Linked DNA regions of Homo sapiens: regions 1 and 3 are each linked to region 2. The links are contacts of gene promoters, found by promoter capture Hi-C in human tissues and cell types (Jung and others, 2019). All regions are on one chromosome and are shown on one strand. The core of a region is centred on a gene start or on the middle of the fragment in contact, and the rest is flanking DNA. Distances in the headings are between cores, read along the strand shown. Region 1 overlaps LINC02463 (long intergenic non-protein coding RNA 2463). Region 2 holds the start of TBX3 (T-box transcription factor 3). Region 3 overlaps MED13L (mediator complex subunit 13L).

What was found. The method cuts DNA at HindIII sites, captures the fragments that hold promoters and counts their contacts. A contact is called where the count stands out against the background at its distance.
Region 1: a fragment that was not itself captured here is called in contact with the fragment with the promoter of TBX3 in region 2 in 1 of the 25 tissues and cell types used here (lymphoblastoid cells).
Region 3: a contact is called between a fragment that was not itself captured here and the fragment with the promoter of TBX3 in region 2, in 1 of the 25 tissues and cell types used here (small bowel).

Annotation. Positions count from the first base shown.
Region 1 is chr12:115,837,008-115,841,457 of GRCh38, reverse strand. The region is part of intron 2 of LINC02463 (long intergenic non-protein coding RNA 2463); the gene reads left to right. Among named protein-coding and RNA genes, the nearest start is that of LINC02463, 47 kb to the left of the region's middle. The HindIII fragment of the contact is 8,902 bases long and covers 1-4,450 here.
Region 2 is chr12:114,681,652-114,686,163 of GRCh38, reverse strand. TBX3 (T-box transcription factor 3) reads left to right here and starts at 1,989. Exons shown (of 7, transcript NM_005996.4): 1 at 1,989-3,352. The coding sequence starts at 2,964. It overlaps TBX3-AS1 (TBX3 antisense RNA 1), which reads right to left and starts at 3,872. Exons shown (of 2, transcript NR_187552.1): 1 at 3,530-3,872. RefSeq lists an enhancer at 1-167 and a promoter at 1,478-1,987. The HindIII fragment of the contact is 7,860 bases long and covers 1-4,512 here.
Region 3 is chr12:115,967,479-115,972,219 of GRCh38, reverse strand. It overlaps MED13L (mediator complex subunit 13L), which reads left to right. Exons shown (of 31, transcript NM_015335.5): 26 at 1-142; 27 at 1,450-1,626; 28 at 3,123-3,280. Among named protein-coding and RNA genes, the nearest start is that of LINC02463, 84 kb to the right of the region's middle. The HindIII fragment of the contact is 6,936 bases long and covers 1-4,741 here.

The DNA of each region.
Region 1 (4,450 bases), core at 1,550-4,049, 1.2 Mb before region 2:
TATGTGGGAGTGAAGGCGCCCTTCCCTCCACTAGCCTCCCAAAGTAAATGGAGGCCAAACCTCTGCCTGATTTATCTCTTCTCCTTGATCCTCCCTTGCCTGCCCTCGGGTTTGAAACTCAGAAGGGAGAAAGAAGAGCCTGAACTTTCAGCACAGCTCTACTGCTCACAAGCTGTGGGACCTTCAGCATGTCGCCTCCTTGCAGCCACCCTGCTTTTCTGTAAATTGGGCATGATGAGAACACCTGCATTGCAGGCCTGTTGGGTGGATTAGACAAGGAAGGCATCTGCAAAGCACTTTGATATACTGTGCATACAGTAGGTGCTCAATAAATGCTTGCTCTTGTGCCCTTGCCCTATTCCGGCCATGACTTTACTTTGCATTACTCCATACCAGTCTCAGCTCTGCTATTACAGACAGAATGCCATTTTGAACTTGTCTTCAAGCTCATTAAAGAGTGTGCAGGCCAGTTGTGGTGGCTCACGTCTGTAATCCCAGCACTTTGGGAGGCTGAGGCAGGTGGATCATGAGGTCAGGAGTTTGAGACCAGCCTGGCCAACATGGTGAAACCCCATCTCTACTAAAAATATAAAAATTAGCTGGGTATGATTACCAAATCCCAGCCATTGATTCATACATATTCAGTATGGGTATGATGGCAGGTGCCTGTAATCCCAGCTACGCGGGAGGCTGAGGCAGGAGAATCATTTGAACCCTGGGAGGTGGAGGTTGCAGTGAGCCGAGATCATGCCACCACACTCCAGTCTGGGTGACAGGGTGAGACTCCGTCTTAAAAAAAAAAAAAAAAAAAAACCAGTGTGCAAGACTACAATATGTTCTAAGAAGCAGCGACTGAACTTTGATGCAGGTCCAGCACTTGTACCAGGCAGGCAAATTTGGCAAACACTCGGCAATAGCCTTAGTGGAGCTGCAGACACCCTTGGTCCAGCTTGAGGGCAGATCACCAAACCGGATCACGTCCCAGTAAGTCCTAACTAAAGATGCTCCCATCGGACTCACATACAGAGTATTTACTCAAGGAGTGTTTGCTGAACACCAACTCAGCGCCGGGCACGCGGGCTCGGTGGTGGAGATGACATCATTCCGCCTGGGTGGCTGTGCTGCCTGGGAGATAACTCATAGGCCATATGCACAGCTTGGGAGCACAGGAAGTCCTTTTACAGAACTTTCCACATTTTAGGAGTGAAGGATGATAGGAATGGGGCTTTGAAGCCCTGAGCCCTTAATAGGCAGAATCCTACATGGTGTTTACTTCACCCTCAGGCACCCCAGCCTCACTTAGCAGTGTTGCAATTAACACAATACCACTGTCAGAATAACCTCTAACCACAGCCCCGGCTACATCGCTCACCTCCTTGGTGGCTTCTCTCTACTCGTAGGATAAACCCAAGCTCCTTAGCCCTGAGGACTCCTTACAGGGTCCTCCCCAGCTGGGCACCCACCCACCCTCACTGCTATGCTCTGAATGTTTGCGCCCCATCCCTAATTTCTATGTTGAAATCCTTACCCTCAAGGTGATGGTATTAGGAGGTGAAGCTTTTGGGAGGTGATTCAGTCATGGAGGTAGAGCCTTCTTGAAAGGGATAAGTGCCTATGAAAAATGGATTCCCAGGAGGTGCCTTGTTCCTTCCACCACGTGAGGACACAGTGAGAAGGCGCCATCCACAAGCCAGAAAGCGGTCCTCACCAGACACCAAATCTGCCCTCATCTTGGACTTCCCAGACTCCAGAACTGTGAGAAGTAAATTCTTTTAGCCAGGTATGGCGGCTCATGCCTGTAATCCTTGCACTTTGGGAGGCCAAGGTGGGTGGATCAGCTGAGGTCAAGAGTTCGAGACCAGCCTGGCCAACATGGTAAAACCCCGTCTCTACTAAAAATACAAAAATTAGCCAGGCGTTATGGCTCATGCCTGTGGTCCCAGCTACTTGGGAGGCTGAGGCAGGAGAATTGCCTGAACCTGGGAGGCAGAGGTTGCAGTGAGCTGAGATCATGCCACTGCACTCCAGCCTGGGCAACAGAGTGAGACTCAGTCTCAAAAATAAATAAATTCTTTTTCTTTATAAGCTACTCAGTCTGAGGTATTTTGTTATAGCAGCTCAAATGGACTAGTTGGAAAATCTCTCTTAGCTTCATCCCTCTTTTCCACTCCTAGCAGCTAGAGTTTCTCTAATCTCCTCAAAGGCTGCATTTTCTCTCTCTCCTCTTAACCCTCTCCTTGGCTAGTCCCTCTGCCTTGAGCACTGTTCCCTCCCATCCTTTGCCTAGCCAACTCCAATCATCTTTAGGCTTCAGCATAAATCTCACTTCCTCCTGGAAGCCTTCCATGATACCTCCATGCTAGGTCGTCCTCCTGTGCCCTCCAGATGGCCCTGAGCTCTGTCTTTTCCAGAACTCATCACTTTGAATTATACCTGCCTCATCCCTGTCTGTCTTCCAGGAAGACTGGAGTCTCCTGAAGGTTGAAGCAGAGTCTGATTTGCTCTCGGTTGCATCTGCAGTGCCTGTATTAGTTTCCCAGAGCTGCAGTAATTAAATATCAAAAACTGGGTAGCTTAAAACCACATAAATTTATTCTCTTACAGTTCAGGAAGCCAGAAGTCCAAAACCAAGATGTCAACAGCATTAGTTTGTTTTGTGGAGCTCAGAGGGAAAATTTGTTCCATGCCTCGTCCTCATCCTCAGCTTCTTGGGAAGTTCTTGGTGTTTGTGTTTTTTTTTTTTTTTTTTTTTTGCTTGCAACAGCATCACTCCACTCTCTGCCTCTGTTTTCCCATGGTCCCTGCCCTGTGTGCCTTTCTCTGTCTTCTTTTAAGGACAACAATCATTGGACTTAGAGCCCACCCTAATCCAATATGACTTTATATTAACTGGATTATATCTGCAAAGACACTATTTCCAAATAATTTCACATTCATAAGTGCTGAGGGTTAGGACTTGAACATATCTTTTCAGGGGATAATATTTAACTCACAACACTGTCTACTTCATCTGTTCATTGTAAATATTTGATGAATGAATGACTGAATGCAGAAAGAAACAAACAGGTTGCCTAGGAGTCCCTCTTTTTTGAGGAAATGTTGAATCTGTGTTGTCACATAAAAGAAAGAATGTAGAACAGGAAAAAGAAATGTACAAGAGAATTTAGATTAAAGCACGCATTCACACACACACACACACACACACACACACACACACACACACACCCTTGCCAAGCGCAGCTGTGGGCTGGACAGGGGAGTGGTGGCCCTGGGCGGGATGCTGGGTAGCCATTCTCCCCCATCCCTTCCGCCCTCTACCTGTCCACCAGGGCCACGCTGTGGTGGGGCCCAGGCACCATTTTATTAGTTGTGATCCACTGTGGTTAATTCTCTTAATCTAGACTTACGTGCCCATAAAGCCCAGACCTCAGGTATTGGATTTCCCTGATCAAAGGGCGACATGTGGGGGGCGCTGCCCAGGAGGGCTCAGCAAGGCTCGTAAACATGGCCCGGGGGACACACACACACACACACACACACACACACACACACACACACTCCAAAAGATGGGCCGATCAATGGCTGGGGTGATCCCGTGTGAAATATGACTGCCGCTTAAATGCAGCTTCTGGGATTTATGGCCGGGTATTAATCTACCCTGCTTAATGCCTTGACCTCTGCCCTCCAGCAATTCAGGGGACGGTGCCAGTGAGGCCAGAAGCTAATTCCATGGATTAAAGCAGAAGGAGCCCCCAGCATTTGGAAGTGTCAGGGACAGTTTAAGCGCTAGCAAAGTGTCCCAGCTCTCCCTATTAATGGTGGCTGGGAATGGTTGGGTTTTTCAAGCAGGCAACACACAGAAGGATCGTAGAGGAAAGGACCTTTTGGTAAATGCAATCAGTTTCCTTCTCTAGTCCAGGCCTGTATGTACTTAATTCCTCTCTCTTCCTAGCCTCCAGGACTCTGCACATCAATTTCTTCCTAGAGTACACTTTGCTTTGTGCATAGTCAGGTTGCACCTTAAATGCCACCTCCTCCAGGGAGCCTTCCTAGCCCCTATGCCTTGTTAATGCTGCTCACTTGACCCTGAATAGCCTCAGAATTGTCACTCATTTTTCTAGTCTTATTCATCCACCAAATTAAACTTCTGAGGGCAGGAACTGAGTTGTCACCTAAACCTCCTAGAGAGCCAAACTCATTGTAAAAACTCAACCAATATTTATTATACGAGTGAATCAAAAGAATTCAAGCAACAACTAAGACTACAGTTGATTTTTTTTTTTTTGAGACAGGGTCTTGCTCTGCTGTCCAGGCTGGAGTGCAGTGGCTCTATCACAGCTCACTGCAGCCTCGACCTGACAGGGTCAAGCAATCCTACCACCCTCAAGCAGCTGGGAGTACAAACATTCACCGTCAGGCCTGGCTAATTTTTAAAATTTATTTGTAGAAA
Region 2 (4,512 bases), core at 740-3,239:
GGCGAGCCAGACGGAGTTCGCAGAACCACACTATTCTCTCTGGTGACTTCAGGGAATTCTCAACGCTGGCGCCAAGCTCTCTTAACCATGTGCGTCAAAAATGCGAGGCTGGAGAAGCCTGTCGCCTCAAAAGATCCTCCCCTATCTCAGCGTGGTTGGCCCACAAGAGCACTTCATTTTCACCCTTCCCTTGGTGCCACGTTGGGGTTTCGGGGTTGCTGGGGGTTGCGCGGGTGCACAAGGCAAAATGCGAGAGAGGCCTGTGCTGGCCTACAGAGACACACACATCCAAAGCCCTGAGTCTCTTAAACCCCTAAGCCCCCAGATCAGCCCTTTCTCCGTTCCCTTTCCATCGAAGAAGCTTTCATCTCAGGAAAGATAAAAGAACATTGTTTTCAAGATTTCCCTCCATCTAAGCAAGGATGGTCCAAGACATTGGCCCCCAGAATCAAGAACTGTGGGCTTAGGCGAATCCTCTGACCCCGACCGGGCGCTGCGGTAACAGAGTTGGTAATTCGGCGATTGGTAAGATCCGGTCGTTTCCCTCCCGTCCGCCTAAGAGGAGGCCCCCACCCTACCCGTACTAAAAACAGTCAACTCGCCTCTGAGGTGGGGGCGTTTCACGGTTTGTTTTACAAATTCACCCTCCCTCCCCGACTTCTGGCCAGATTAAGTCCCCGGGGTGGAGAAAGAACTGAGGCACCGAGAGATAAGTGCGATGCCTAGAGAAGATACCAGGCTGGCGCGCCTCCCCCAACCCAATCGCCCACCCCTTACCCTGTGCTGTGCACCCAGCCGGGCCTCGAGGTGAGGGCAGCGGCTTGGAGGGGACAGGCTCAGAACCCAGTCTCTCGCTGTGCTCGCTTTGTCCAGATCCTCCATTCTCTTCTCTACACCCACACCCACATCCAGGTGGAATATGGGGGCCCGCATGCAAATGAAAGACGAGATCCAAAAGGGCTGGTAAATGCATTTCATAAAAATCCCAAATCCATCTTCCCCAGGAGCTCAGGCAGGGCCAGCCGCGCAGGCTGTGTACGTGTTTGTGTGTACGTGTTTTTCGGTGTGTGTTTCAGTCCCAGTGTGTTGGCGCGTGTTCGAGTACAGATACACCGGGGGTGTTTGGGTACCCGCACATGGCTGCGGGTGGGGCGCAGTGGAGAGGAAGCCCACACATGCGTGTGCTGAGATATGGCCGCATCCTTGTGCTCCCCCAGCCCAGACGCAGGGGAGACCAGCACCGAGACACCCGAGCTCGGGAGCCCTTCAGCGGCGGCCGGGCGGAGCTTGGCTCCACGTGGGGCTGGAGAGCACGCAAGCCTGGAGTCTCGGCGCTCGCTTCTCGGCTGCCGCCGGCTTTTGTAGAACCGAGTGGCCGGATGGCAGCTCGCGGGGAGGCTCGGCCACCCGCCCGGCTCGCCCGGGGCGGGGAGAAGAAGGAGAGCTGGAGAGAGAACCGGCCGCGGCGGTCGGAGAGGCGAGCGGAGTGCAAGAGAGGCGAGCGCCCCTGCCCGGCGCCCGGGCGCGCTCTCCGCCTTCCCCGCCCGGCTCGCCTGCTCGCTGGCTCCCTCCCTCTCTCCCTCCCCCTTCCTCCTTGGCCCTGCCTCCTCCCTCGATCCCCGGCTGGATGACTGAGGCATTTCAGACGTGGGCTGAACCAGAGCGAGCGAGCGAGCTCAGGGGCTGCAGCGATCTCTCGATAAGCCACCTAGAGGCGACTCTGTGCGCGCGCGCTCCCCAGTGGCTCCCGCCCGCCCTCTGATCATGTTGACATATTCACAGGACAGGCAGTAGTACCGATGCGGCGCTGCGACGTTACAGTTTCCGACACCTTCTTTTTATAACTCAGCTCTATCCCCCAGCACTCGACCTGTGAAAACCACGCCTATGCAGCAACACAATTGGTCCGAAAGCGTCAAAGAGCCAATCAAGAGGCCTCCGGCTCCCCGCAGCCCACAGCGCAGCCCGACCTTCTAGAGCCGCCGAGCAGACGCCCGGTGAATTCTAGAGGCGGCGGAGGGTGGCGAGGAGCTCTCGCTTTCTCTCGCTCCCTCCCTCTCCGACTCCGTCTCTCTCTCTCTCTCTCTCTCTCCCCTCCCTCTCTTTCCCTCTGTTCCATTTTTTCCCCCTCTAAATCCTCCCTGCCCTGCGCGCCTGGACACAGATTTAGGAAGCGAATTCGCTCACGTTTTAGGACAAGGAAGAGAGAGAGGCACGGGAGAAGAGCCCAGCAAGATTTGGATTGAAACCGAGACACCCTCCGGAGGCTCGGAGCAGAGGAAGGAGGAGGAGGGCGGCGAACGGAAGCCAGTTTGCAATTCAAGTTTTGATAGCGCTGGTAGAAGGGGGTTTAAATCAGATTTTTTTTTTTTTAAAGGAGAGAGACTTTTTCCGCTCTCTCGCTCCCTGTTAAAGCCGGGTCTAGCACAGCTGCAGACGCCACCAGCGAGAAAGAGGGAGAGGAAGACAGATAGGGGGCGGGGGAAGAAGAAAAAGAAAGGTAAAAAGTCTTCTAGGAGAACCTTTCACATTTGCAACAAAAGACCTAGGGGCTGGAGAGAGATTCCTGGGACGCAGGGCTGGAGTGTCTATTTCGAGCTCAGCGGCAGGGCTCGGGCGCGAGTCGAGACCCTGCTCGCTCCTCTCGCTTCTGAAACCGACGTTCAGGAGCGGCTTTTTAAAAACGCAAGGCACAAGGACGGTCACCCGCGCGACTATGTTTGCTGATTTTTCGCCTTGCCCTCTTTAAAAGCGGCCTCCCATTCTCCAAAAGACACTTCCCCTCCTCCCTTTGAAGTGCATTAGTTGTGATTTCTGCCTCCTTTTCTTTTTTCTTTCTTTTTTGTTTTGCTTTTTCCCCCCTTTTGAATTATGTGCTGCTGTTAAACAACAACAAAAAAACAACAAAACACAGCAGCTGCGGACTTGTCCCCGGCTGGAGCCCAGCGCCCCGCCTGGAGTGGATGAGCCTCTCCATGAGAGATCCGGTCATTCCTGGGACAAGCATGGCCTACCATCCGTTCCTACCTCACCGGGCGCCGGACTTCGCCATGAGCGCGGTGCTGGGTCACCAGCCGCCGTTCTTCCCCGCGCTGACGCTGCCTCCCAACGGCGCGGCGGCGCTCTCGCTGCCGGGCGCCCTGGCCAAGCCGATCATGGATCAATTGGTGGGGGCGGCCGAGACCGGCATCCCGTTCTCCTCCCTGGGGCCCCAGGCGCATCTGAGGCCTTTGAAGACCATGGAGCCCGAAGAAGAGGTGGAGGACGACCCCAAGGTGCACCTGGAGGCTAAAGAACTTTGGGATCAGTTTCACAAGCGGGGCACCGAGATGGTCATTACCAAGTCGGGAAGGTAAGCAGTGGGGGCCTCCTCCCCTAAGCTGTTGGAGAGTTTTTTCCTCCCTTTATTTCTCTGCTCCCAGAACAGTCGGTTGGTCGGTTATTACGGCTTGGACGAAAAGTTAGTTCCCCTAGAAATGTATGCACAGACTTCCAGGCCCTGCCCCGGTGGCAGGAAATTTCAGCTTACCTGGGCATCTGCATGGGTCTTGCATTTGGTCTGCATCCTGGGTTCCCTCCCGAACAGACAGAATTTTTCAGTGGAGCACAGACATCCCTGCAGGGAGCAGGAAAGAAAAAAAAAAAAGGCACTCTACTGCAAGAAACTCACTCTTCAAACCCTCCTGGAACATCCTTATTTCTTTGTTGATGTTGTGTTGTCTGTTTTATTTTGTTCTCAGAGAGAAAAACTTAAAGCCCTTTCCTTTTGTGTGGGTATTGGGAGGCCTGACACCATTCCCCGGCCCTTTCTGCCCTCCAGTCTAGCCTCTGGGTCTAAAGGGGCCTGCTGCTGCCCTGGTCAGAGAGAAATCGAAGGGCATTTTGGTTTGTTTGCCCACACTACTTCACGTGTCTGTAACCCAAGGGCGAGTTCAGCAGGCAATTTTGCATAATTTAAGATTATGTTTGCAGACTTAAGGAGCCAGTGAGGAGACACACACCTTTTTTTTAATGTGTGAATATTATCAACCATATTTTACATAATGTTTAAAGGTCCTTGCCTGACCAAAACCTGCCTGGAAGAGAAGATCCTGTAATAGTCATTTAAAATCACTGATTTTTTTTTTGTAATAGCATTGAAGCCTGTAAAGGCATAAAGTTGATACAAAAATAAAATCCCCTTCATGATATCTTAAGCGTTCTGTCTCCTTCCAAGCTAAATGAGGCCAAAGTTTGGCATAAAATCCTCCTCAAACTCACAAGACATTTAGTCAGTTTTCCAGCAAAGTGCTTCCTTGCTTCCTTTTAAGTCAAGACTACAGAATGCCAACCCTTCTGTGAAATTAACAGCAATGTGGTGGCACAGTCTTGCGGTTTTGGACTGGCCTAAGAAGTGGGGGAATGTGTTAGCAGCTCCACGGGCAGATCGGTTATCAGGCCCAGGAGTGCACCGAAGTCTGCAAAATTCGTTCTGGGAACTCACTGAAGTCCAGTTTCACTTCGCCCACAGCG
Region 3 (4,741 bases), core at 1,901-4,400, 1.3 Mb before region 2:
GGAGAATGTTCACTACAGACAATCAGCAAAAAGCTCAAGGATGTGTGCCGGATGTGTGGAATCTCTGCCGCAGACTCTCCTTCTATCCTTAGTGCCTGCCTGGTTGCCATGGAGCCCCAGGGGTCCTTTGTAGTGATGCCAGGTAAATTTCTTCTTGTCATTGTCATTAATTACATATCACATCAATTCAGTCCACTCAAACTTAAGTCCGCAGACAAGGGTAGAATTGTCTTCATTATATTTCTATAAGGGAAGATTGTATTTGGGGCTTAAAGATGGAAAACATTCGATACCTTCCATGCGGAGTGGTTTGTGATTTTATCATGTTTGTTGACCATAGCTCGGGGGAGAGACTAAGTTCTGAATATCATTGAGATCTCATAGAGTCATGGCTAATGACTGTTACCTGACCCCAGTTTGTTGTTAGTATATGAAGATCACCCTCCAAAGAACTATGAAAGTAGACACCAGAATGATGCATATTTGAATATCCTTTTGAAGACATGCATTTGGCAGAATCTCTCAGCAGCCTCGAAGGGATATTTCTATAGTCTCTCTGATACGGTTGAAGATGAATGGGAAGGCAAACAAGGATAAAGCAGTTAGCACAGTACCTGGTACACAGTAAGCTCTCAATAGATGTAGGTGTCATTTGTGGATGGCCAAAACGTGGCCACAGAATTTCTTAAGAATCTGGCTGGTTTTTGAAAACCAGTAACTGAGCGATTTTATATTTTTATAACCTATCTTTACCATCCAGATATTTCTTGAATCAAATGGGGGACCTTCCCCACTTATTCCTTATAAAAGTCAACAGTATTGTGGTGTGAGAATGGGGTTACTTGTCATCAATCCAGTGAGAGACAGATGTCCTCATTAGACTATAGGTTACCTCTGTTGCCGCTACCACTTGGGCAGTTACGTAACTTCTTTGTGCTTTTGTCCTCATCTATAAATGGGGATCATAGTTCCTACCTTCAGATGCTGTGATGATCAAATGCGATGACTTGAATGAAGAGTTTAGCACAAATGCTGGCATGTAGTAAGCATTCATTAAGTGTTATAACATGTATTGATTTTATGGTCCTATCTCTATAGGATTGTTAACCGTTTAGAACAGTACTTTATAAATTGTGAACAACCAGAGGAGGAAAGAAAGTAGGGTGTTTATTTTTAGAAATACTTCTTACGTAAGTAATTAAAACATTTAGTGGACTTGGTCCAATTTTATCTTAACCTTTTCAGTATGAAATGAAACTTGGGTTATTATAGACAGCTATGTGCTCTGAGTCAGTTTCTTTGAAGATATTTAAACAATTGGACTCAATTTTGAATGTGTATTTATCATGGCATTTTCATCAGACTCATACCACTCCAGATCAGGCCCTCTGAAAACCTCATTTCTGGGGTTGTTCATTGATTGATATAATTCTATTTTTTTCTTTAAAGATGCTGTCACAATGGGCTCTGTTTTTGGCCGAAGTACTGCACTGAACATGCAGTCATCTCAGCTCAACACCCCTCAAGATGCTTCTTGTACACACATCTTGGTGTTCCCAACATCATCAACCATCCAGGTGGCTCCAGCCAACTACCCCAATGAAGATGGGTTTAGCCCCAACAATGGTGAGTAGAAGACCTGTATGGATAGTGCTCACCTTCATGCAGGGCAGAGCCGGAGTATGGAATCACTGGGCTGCCGCATGGCTTTTCTGTGTTGTAATAAACAACCCAGGAACTATAAAGAGGGGATAGAAGGTTTGAGAATCTATTTGGTCTTAAAGCTTTGATTTATCTGCACAATTAACAAGACCAAATAAATATTTTCCTTGTTTGGGCAATTAACTTTCTTCCATTTTTCATTAAAGGCAAAAAATAATACCTGCGTGGCACTGTTCTGTACTTAGGTGCCACTCTTTCAATAAATATTTGCTGATGTGATTTGAAATGTGTGAAGTACTAAGCAATATGAAGAGAGCACCTTCCTTTAGCTAGTCTATGGCAATCTAATTTGCTATAGAGAAACCCTTATTTGATTATTCTTAATGGAAATTTTTGAATAGCTGTTAAGGTATTTGTTTAAAAAAATGATTATTTATAAACTATAAAACACTCAACACAGCATCCATTTGCATTGTTTTTGAAGAAATTATAACACCTACCAGTGTTTATTTATGGTAAATGGGATGAGGAAAAGGATACCAAATTTTATATCTGGTATGATTACAATAGAATAACAAATATATGAGAAAATAAAAGAATCATAGAAAAAAATGATCATGGTGATTGGGTTCTAGGTGATGGTTTTCACTTTTTATACTTTTCTTTACAAATTTTCTGCTGTGAGTGTACCTTACTTTTATAATGTTGGGGAGGATTTCTTAATGAAAATGCTGGGCCAGGCACGGTGGCTTATGCCTGTAATCCTAGCACTTTGGGAGGCTGAGGCAGGCGGATCCCTTGAGGTCAGGAATTTGAGACTAGCCTGGCCAACGTGGTGAAACCCCATCTCTATGAAAAATACAAAAATTAGCCAGAAATCACTTGAACCCAGGAGGCAGAGGTTGCAGTGAGCCGAGATCGTGCCACTGCACTCCAGCCTGGGCAACAGAGGGAGACTCCATCTCAAAAAAAAAAAAAGAGAGAAAACATTGTGCTTTGATTTGCTTTTGGAATAGGTCTCCATTTTCAGGGCAAGTTCACACTCATTAACATGCATTCATTCAGCCTCTGGTGTTTTAGATGCTAAGTGGATACATAGATGGAGTCTACTGTGTTTTTGAATGGTGTCAATTTTAATGATTAAATTGTTGCTTTAGCTCTTTTACCATACTTTTATGTGTCTTTGGAGGCTATGCAGAGTGTAGGTTTTTATGTTATATTCTTTATTGCATTCTGTTAATACTGTACATAAGGAGATCATTGGAGAGAGTACAAAATGAAAGAATAATTTGTAATAGCTTGCACTCAGTAGGTCCTAACTGAATCTAAGTTATTAACAGTGTGTGTCCATAATAGCCATATGCCAACAAAACATGACATAGGTTAGGTTGGATTATTATGATATTGATATGTGGACTATCTTTTTAATTTTTGTGCTTTTTTTCCCCCCTTCCCTCTAGATGATATGTTTGTTGACCTTCCATTCCCAGATGATATGGACAATGATATTGGCATATTAATGACTGGGAACCTCCATTCCTCTCCCAACTCTTCCCCAGTACCCTCCCCAGGCTCTCCTTCTGGAATTGGTGTGGGCTCTCACTTCCAGCATAGTCGGGTAAGGATGATTTGGAGTACGTTGTTTAAGACAACCATAGCCTTTAGGAAGATAATCCACTGGACATCTGATCATCTTGTTCCTACTTGCACAGTTCTTGATGGTCTGGGTCCTTGGTACAAGAGAAATAAGTGTGGGAAACTGACTATGGTTCCATTTTGAATAGAAGGCAGGAATTTGAAATAAATATGTTATTATTTCTGATGAATAAGTTTTATCAGAAGAATAGTCCTATTACAGATGCAAGGGTTTTTAATGCATTGTTTTCTTAGCAAAAATTAGTTCTAGTTGCTTGCTGCTTCCCAGTTTTTTAATGGTTTTATTTTTTGCCAAAATAGTGGCTTTTAAGAGATTAGTACAACAACCGTACTTACTCAACATGCAGAGTAATTGTGCTGATTGAAGAACACGTTGGTGATGGCTTGTTCTGAAAGGAGCCTGCCGTGCTCTTTGCGTGTCCTGGCTTAGTCATTTTGCAGCCTTCTTCTTTCTAGCCGACCTGCAGGAATGGCAAGAGCCGCCAGGAGATTGATTTTACAGATGTGTCCAGGTTAACGCCAGAGTATTAAGGAAAAAACCAGAGCTTACAACTGGTTTCATCTTTAAATATCTCAGGGATATTGGAGGTGGATGAACAACAGAAGATTTAAGAGTTAGAGGGTTCTGCCACAGCTTGTGGTAACTTTGCTTCAGTTAGATGATTCCTGCTGCATCACTGTATTGTACTGTTTATTTAAAATGTTATGAGACTGGGGAGTTAAGACTTTGAAAAATAGCTATGTCTGGTATCTTAGACTGAACAAGCATAAGCAGCCTGCTCACACTCATTTATTTAGACACAAAGATGGACATAAAGGACTTCAGTTTTCATCGGGGGGGGGGGGGGACTTTTATTCCCAGCACTGAATTTATTAGACGCTGGAGAGAAAAAAGGTTTATAGCTTAGATTAGTCACAGAGCAGGTAAGACCAGAGGAGGGCATCTCAGACTGTTCCCATGTTATACCTGCCCCTATTACCCTCTTCTGGAAGGAAGGGGTTTTAAGGGTCTTTGTTTCCTTTGCAGTACTTACCAGTTAATGATAATTTGTTCATGGGAAACGGTTGTGATAGGAACGAAAAACACAAATGTTACATTGTCTATTTTTTTAAAGTTGGGTTTAATTTGAATTCTGGAGGCAAGTAGCATAGCAGCTAAGAATGCATGCCCCACAGTCTGTTAAAGACAACTTTGAATTGCAGCTCTGGGCCTACGGGCTTTGTGACCTTGGACAAGCTAACTTCACCTCTCTTAGCCTGAGTTACCTTATCTGTGAAATGGAATAATAGCAACTACCTCCCAGTACCTGTTTTTGTAATTCAGTTTATGCATTAACAAAGAATTGGTTATTGAAGTTGTAATGTTAGTTGTGTAAGAAACAGAGGTATGCTGTATTTCTCCCTTTTTTTGGAGCCTTAAGCA